2 separate regions of the Homo sapiens genome follow, and region 2 is linked to region 1. The links are contacts of gene promoters, found by promoter capture Hi-C in blood cells and fetal thymus (Javierre and others, 2016). All regions are on one chromosome and are shown on one strand. The core of a region is centred on a gene start or on the middle of the fragment in contact, and the rest is flanking DNA. Distances in the headings are between cores, read along the strand shown. Region 1 overlaps GMDS (GDP-mannose 4,6-dehydratase). Region 2 holds the start of WRNIP1 (WRN helicase interacting protein 1).

Region 1 (3,902 bases), core at 1,033-3,532:
ATTCAAGAAACTATCCGTACAAAATGGCTGGGTTACAAAACACACACAAGCCAGGGGGCATGTGGTGCAAAGGCAGGAAAGTGCTAGTCACAAAGGCACTGGGACACTGGAGAGTTTACACTCCCCCCAGGGCAAGAGAGAGCCACCAATAGTTTAAGCTGAGGAGCGACCATCTGACATGATCAGATGGTCACTCCAGCTAAAACTCACTGGCAGCAAATGAATGGAAAAAAAAAAGACTGGAAGCAGAAGACCAGGTAGGAGGTTACTATAACAGCCCAGGCAGGACAAGGTAACTGATGTGGGCAAGGAAAGGACAAGAGATGACACCGCTACCAAAGCTATGCTAGTGGGGTAAAATCAGCAGGACCTGCTGGTGAAGACATGAGGAGTGAGGGGAAAGGAGGACGATAGGATGACTCCAAGATTTCTGACTTTGGCTCCCAAATGGATTGTGGTCCTGCTTTGAAATAGGGTGGGGAAAAACACAGAGATGATAGAAGGGAGGGACATGTGGAGTAGGAGATGTCTATGAAATACCTACATGGAAATGTTGAGGCATTTGGAACTCAGGGTCTGGAACTCAGGAAACAAATCTGGACTGGAGACAAGGCTTTGGGATTCACAAGGGAAGAGTGACTGCAGTTGTAGACATAGAAAGTGAACAAAGTAGGAGAGAGTCAGGAATGGTATGTTAAGACACACTAACCTGCAAGGGTGGGCAGAACAATGCACTGACAAAGAGGTACAAGGAAAACCAGCAGAGGAGGGAAAATCAAGAGGAAAAGTGACAGTGATAACACACGCCAACAAAGCAAGTAAGACAAGGACTGAAGTTGCAGGGTTTAGCCGTGAAAGGTAATTTAGAAGATCTTATATAACAACAGTTTAGGGTAGGATGGGGAAAGCAACCAAATATAATGAGTTGAACAGTCCTTAAGAGATAAGAAAATGGACATAGTGACTGAAGCCACTGGGCTGTGAAACAAAGGCTGGGGGAATAATGAGAAAGATACTGACAGCCCGTTGTGGAACCCTAGAAATTATCCACCCTTATTGACACAGGTGTTGGGTTACTGTGCTTCATCTTTAATTCAGCTCTGTTGCAGGGATCCCTAATGCAGAACACTGACCACAGGGCCACAATGACTTCTGGACATTAGACTCAGACAACTTGGCATTTTCAGTTTGGTGATGATGTTGGAAACTGTTTTCAATTTGCAACCTAATTGCTTCCCAAATAAAGATCTCAATGATGCTTCTCATAGGAGAAATACATATATTCTAAAGAGTGCACTGAGTAGTTTTTAGCTATTTTACATATAATTTTATAGTTATAGGAGCGAAGATCAGTGATCAGAAATATTTTATGTACAAGTTTGGTATTATGTCTCAGAGAAAAAAAATCATAAGTATAGCATTTGTTAATGAACACCAAGTACCTTCATAAAAACATGTTTATTTGAACATGCAAATAAGAGTTAGTTGTTTACTCTCATCAAAATTATAGCGTGTCTTCAGGAAAAGAATTCTAGGTCAAAGCAGACTAATGTTCAGGACAGCCAAGAGTAAAACATTAATGAATATTTATTAATATTATGTGCCAGACACTGTGTCCTTCAACCCTCACCTATGGCTAGTACCATTATCCTCACTTTACAAAAGAGAAAACTGAGGCACAGAGAGGCTGAATAATTACTTGAAAGTCACAGAACTGAGAACTGGCAGAGAGGAGATTTGAACGCACGTACGTCCACACGATGTCAGACGCTACCTGAGATGAACAGTAAGCCTTGGCCGGGCATGGTGGCTCAGGCCTGTAACCTCAGCACTTTGGGAAGCCGAGGTGGGTGGATCGCTTGGGCCCAGGAATTCAAGACCAGCCTGGGCAACATGGTGAAACCTCGTTTCTATAAAAAATACAAAAAAAAAAAAAAATTAGCTGGGCATGGTAGTGCACAACTGTGGTCCCAGCTACTCGGGAGGCTGAGGCAGAAGTATTGTCTGAGCTGGGGAGGTCAAGGCTTCAGTAAGCCAAGACTGCACCACCGCACTCCATCCTGAGTAACCAAGCAAGACCCTGTCTCAATAAATAAACAAACAAACAAATAAATAAGCCTTTATCCTATGATCTCATTAAAGACAGAGGTGCCCCCTAACTTGCCCTTTAACTTGCAGTCTTGATCCCTGCAACAAAGCTGAACTAAAGATGAAGTGCAATACCAAACTGCTCCCTAACTTGTACCTTCTCCTGCTCCTATGCCACAGCTCTCTTCCATAAGTTCATTCTGAAGAGTCCTAGGCTGTTCTATGCAAATGACGAATCATTTGCCAACCCTTAGATTTTCCGGCTTGCATCCGGATCAGTGTGTTGGCTGTAAACCAACCAACACAGATGATCAATATTACAGCACAAAGGAAGTAAAAAGCCTTTGTGATTATCCAGTAAGCTAGGGATCAGAAAAGAATGATTGCAAAATCCTAACGTACAGTAGAATAAGGAAATGTTTCCAGGTATTTGTCAGAAAAGGGCCAGCTTCCATCTGGACCATGACCTACAAACAACATTAATGCTCCTAACAGAACTATTTAAATAAGATTCCACTGTTTGTTCTCTGAAATCTCCTGGGACACAATGACTACCTAGAAGGTAATCAGACCTCGACCACAGGAGAGCCAAGGACTGCCATTCCAGCTTTCCTGCCATTCTCACTTCCTGGCAGGTGAACTCTGCTCCCATTCCAGCCCCTGAAAGCCTAACCTAAGAAAAGAAAAAAAGAGAGAGGAATAGAAAAGAAAAAACTGTGAAAAGAAAGAAATGAAATAGAGGCAGAAAACAAAGAGGAGGGAGAAAGGAAACAATTACACTAGAGGTAGTTTCTGCTAGACCAACACTGAGCCAGGCCATCCCAGTTTTCACTCTCTTCTGGACACTCACCAACAATATACTTTAATTTTGTCAAAACTGCCTTTGGGTGAGGCATCCTGATTCCTGGGTAGAAATAACATGAAACCCGTGAAGTCAGAGACTCTTCTATAGTAGAGACCCAGAATGCAGTTCACTAATTTTGAAAGAATTTGTCAGAGCTGTAGGAGACCTGTGAGATCATGATTGCTGTTCCCATCTAAGAGTTAGATTCTGCCTATGATAACTGTCCATAAGGGCAACATTCCAACTAAATTTTCGCATTACTGTGTGCTACAATTAATTTTTTTAATCCAGTTAATAAAGTGCTTTCACAGAGTATATCATTAACAAAAGTTAATCGATAAATACTCCAGAGCAATAGCCCCAACAACAGAGATATTATAACCCTCCTATCAGAATACACAGAAATGGAATATGAGTATCTGGAAATGCAAACTTCAGCAAACATCACAGGAATTTTTTTAAGTGTTTGCATATAACATGTCAAAAACTAATGAACTCTGATTCTACTAGCATTTACTCTCCTAAATTCTATCACTCAAAATAATATGAAACCATTAAAAACACCTAACATGTGAACTAAAATATACACACAAATGTCTATGACAATCATAATAGGAGGTGCTAAGCTGGTTAACTAACAAGATCTCTTGAGGCTGGGATTTTCCTCACCCTAGACCCCCAGATGCATTCATCCCTGGAGTCCCTCGTACTCAATCAGTACTTGATGACTCTGAAAGAATCATCCAGGAATGATTCCAGATGGAATTTAAGTTCCATATCCAACTCAAGGCCAGTAACATTTGCTGAAAAGCAGTGAAGTCAATCAGTAACAAGTTAGTCAAAACAATGAAGAAAAGATAATGCAGGCAGTAATTACTTCTGAGTGGTGGGATTGCGGGTGTTGTTTTTTTTCCCCCTGAAACTTTATATCCTCCTATACTTCCAATTTTTCAATAGTGAACATTATTTT
Region 2 (3,507 bases), core at 65-2,564, 540 kb after region 1:
CTGAGATTGCGCCATTGCACTCCAGCCTGGACAAGAGTGAAACTGCGTCTCAAAAAAATAATGAAAGCTCACGATCCTCTTTTGGTAGTTTCACGTTACATGATGATTAAAGTTTAACTTGTTTCTCTAGCGTTTCTATTAATCTTATTTTTGAGCCTAACTTTTTTAGTTAGAAACAACTCTTAACCAGCCAGCCAGGCGTGGTGGCTCAGCCTGTAACCCCAGGACGACTCCAAAGGCTAAGGCGGAAGGGTCCCGGGCGCCCAGGAGTTCAAGGCTGTGAGCTCTGGTCGCGGCCCTGCACTCCAGCCTGGGCGACAGAACGAGTGAGACCCTCAATGTGCTCTTGCCCAGATGAAATAAAAATTCAAGTTTTGGCCAAATTTCGGAAAAGTCTTCATTCTCCCTCAATTCATTTACCTCTTCTAGTTACCAAAAATGCCTGTTTTGAGATACATGTTTTAAAACGGGAGACTTAGACAAAAGCAAAAAATAACATGGTAATTCATTCAAAGATGCAGACTACCACACTTGTTTTAATCTGATATTCTTTCCATTTCTATCCGTCTAGGACGTAATTGCACACGGGCGCCTCCCATCATTTGGTTGCTAAGGAGACAGAAGGCTGGTGTTTCCGATTTGCCACTATTACACAGCGGCCCGCGAGAAGCATCTCTTGGCTCGAAGCGCGCTGTAGGTGAACCGCCCTTGACTTAAACGCCAACACATCTAAAAGGGGGCGAGGGACGCTTTATTTTCATTTCCCTGACCACTACTGAGGTGAGCATTTCTTTCACTCGCGTACTTGTTTGTATTTTTTCTGCTGTTCACGTCCAATAGAACACTGGTTTTCTATTGGAGGCTTTTGGGTTTTTTCCCCCATTTCCCTTTCGTTACAAACGACCCGCTGCGGCCGCCTCCTGCTTGTCCCCACAGGCCCATTCAACAGCCCAGCACGGAAGGCCGGGAAAGCGGCGCTCGCCGCTCCAACAACCTCGCGCAGTCCGTGGCTCCTCCCTGCCCTCGCGCGACTCGCAGGCCTGGGCGGAGGGCTGCGTCCGCCACCGCGCAACCTCGCGCACGCGCACCACGCTCGCCTCGCAACCCCCCCCCCCGCCCCTCCCCCGCCCCCGCAAAGGCTGTTCTCAGAGTCGGAAATGGACGCACGGCAGCTGGGGCGAATGGCCGCGGACTACACTTCCCGAAGTGCCGCGCGAGGTATTCTCGGCGGTGATTGGGGCAAACGGCCACGGACTACACTTACTTACATGCCGCGCGAGGCGCCTCCGCCGCCGGGGCAAACGGCCACGAACTACACTTCCCGACACGCCGCGTGAGGCGCTGCCAGCGGCCGGCCGAGGGCGGGCGGACGCGGGAGCTGCGGACGTGAGGCATGAGCGGCGCCCTCCTCCGGCCCGCGAGCGTCCTGCTGGTTCCCCGAGCGAGGGTCTCGCGGCGCGGGGCCTAGCGGAGGGCATCGAAGGCCTCCGCGTGCGCACGGGTTGCTGCGGCCGCGCCGGGCGCCGGGGAGGGCGGCGGCCGCCATGGAGGTGAGCGGGCCGGAAGACGACCCCTTCCTTTCGCAGCTGCACCAGGTGCAGTGCCCCGTGTGCCAGCAGATGATGCCCGCCGCGCACATCAACTCGCACCTGGACCGCTGTCTGCTGCTCCACCCGGCGGGGCACGCGGAGCCCGCGGCCGGGTCGCACCGCGCCGGGGAGCGGGCCAAGGGGCCCTCGCCGCCCGGCGCCAAGAGGCGGCGGCTGTCGGAGAGCTCGGCGCTGAAGCAGCCAGCCACCCCGACGGCAGCCGAGAGCAGCGAGGGCGAGGGTGAGGAGGGCGACGACGGCGGCGAGACCGAGAGCCGCGAGAGCTACGACGCGCCGCCCACACCCAGCGGCGCCCGCCTTATCCCCGACTTCCCGGTGGCCCGCTCCAGCAGCCCCGGGAGGAAGGGGTCGGGGAAGAGGCCGGCGGCCGCCGCCGCGGCGGGGAGCGCGTCTCCGCGCAGCTGGGACGAGGCGGAGGCGCAGGAGGAGGAGGAGGCCGTGGGCGACGGCGATGGCGACGGGGACGCGGACGCGGACGGCGAGGACGACCCGGGGCACTGGGACGCGGACGCTGCCGAAGCCGCCACCGCCTTCGGGGCCAGTGGCGGGGGCCGCCCGCACCCCCGGGCGCTGGCTGCCGAGGAGATCCGACAGATGCTACAGGGCAAGCCGCTGGCCGACACGATGCGTCCTGACACGCTGCAGGATTACTTCGGGCAGAGCAAGGCCGTGGGCCAGGATACCCTGCTGCGCTCGCTCCTGGAGACCAACGAAATCCCCTCGCTTATCCTGTGGGGGCCGCCGGGCTGCGGCAAGGTGAGTGCGGCCTTGGCCGTTGGGCTTCCGTAGTTATCTCGGCGGTGGATGCAGCTGATGGTCGGAGAGCCGGGTGTGCTGCCCTCGAAAGAAGCCGCCTGCCTCTCCTGGATAAGGGGGTGCAGACTTGGGCTGGGCTGGGGCAGTGCCTGGTCCACAGGTGGAGTCTGTGATGGGTGTGAAAAGGGCACACACCCCCAGATTGGTAAGGCAGGCTTGCCGGGTTTGCAAAAGGACGATGTCTGTGAATCCATAGTTTTACAAGATGTGGACTCTTAGATTTGATCTGCCTTTATCTTCCATCGGTCTCCCCGCCCCCTCCCCAGACTTTGATTTAGTAACCGAATTCGCAAGGAATCAGCATGTTTAAATTGTAAAGAAACATTTGTATATTCCGTTTGTACATAATAACGGATTCAGCTTTGAAAAAAATCAAATTAATTCTGTTGTGCTTCCTTCCTTTTCCACTAGTTGTTGGTTTAACAGACTGGTATTTATTCTTAAGAATAAGTTTATTTAACATTCTTATATTCTTGAGAATATATTGATTTTACTAAATATACTCATGTATTTACAAAACTAACATAAAAACTTTTTCATCTGCAAGTCATTTTCATCCGGTATTTCCGTAACTTTTCTCATAATGCCTTGTACTCTAGAGAAGAAACATCCGTGCATTTTGGTGTCCAGTTCTGTGTCCCTTCGTGAGGCGTTAGCGTTCCAGATGAGGGCAGTTAGGATATTGTGAGTCTAGAAAGCATGTCATTGGAAAAACACTTGAGAAAAAAATGGAGGAGGTGAGCCAGAAAACAGAGAAAGCTAAGAAGTGCTTAAATACAGGATGCTTTTATCCATAATAAGGGAGAAGAACCAGCATCAGGAAGGGAAAGGGAGAATTCAGGGATCAAACTGTAAAGAGTTCTTGTAGCTTTGAGATTCAGACTCGTTTGCACACAAGGCTTTTATGATTTTTCTCCTATTTTTCTTTCTAGCTTTATCTCCCACAACTTAAGCACACCCCCTTTAACTCCAGTTCCTGGAATGAATTGCCCTTTTTGTGCCTTCTTGTTTGCACTCATGCCTTCCCTTTGGCCAGGAATAAACCACATCTATCCCAAATAACATCTTATGATGATGGTGG

What was found. The method cuts DNA at HindIII sites, captures the fragments that hold promoters and counts their contacts. A CHiCAGO score of 5 or more calls a contact.
Region 2: the fragment with the promoter of WRNIP1 here is called in contact with a fragment that was not itself captured in region 1 in 1 of 17 cell types (neutrophils); the score reaches 5.1 in neutrophils.

The regions. Positions count from the first base shown.
Region 1 is chr6:2,223,243-2,227,144 of GRCh38, forward strand. The region is part of intron 1 of GMDS (GDP-mannose 4,6-dehydratase); the gene reads right to left. Among named protein-coding and RNA genes, the nearest start is that of GMDS, 20 kb to the right of the region's middle. RefSeq lists a silencer at 3,513-3,807. The HindIII fragment of the contact is 6,028 bases long and covers 1-3,902 here.
Region 2 is chr6:2,764,079-2,767,585 of GRCh38, forward strand. It overlaps WRNIP1 (WRN helicase interacting protein 1), which reads left to right and starts at 1,315. Exons shown (of 7, transcript NM_020135.3): 1 at 1,315-2,366. The coding sequence starts at 1,545. It also overlaps a transcript of MYLK4 not described here. RefSeq lists enhancers at 1-759, 857-1,151 and silencers at 606-695, 1,076-1,125, 1,286-1,745, 1,916-2,235. The HindIII fragment of the contact is 13,290 bases long and covers 1-3,507 here.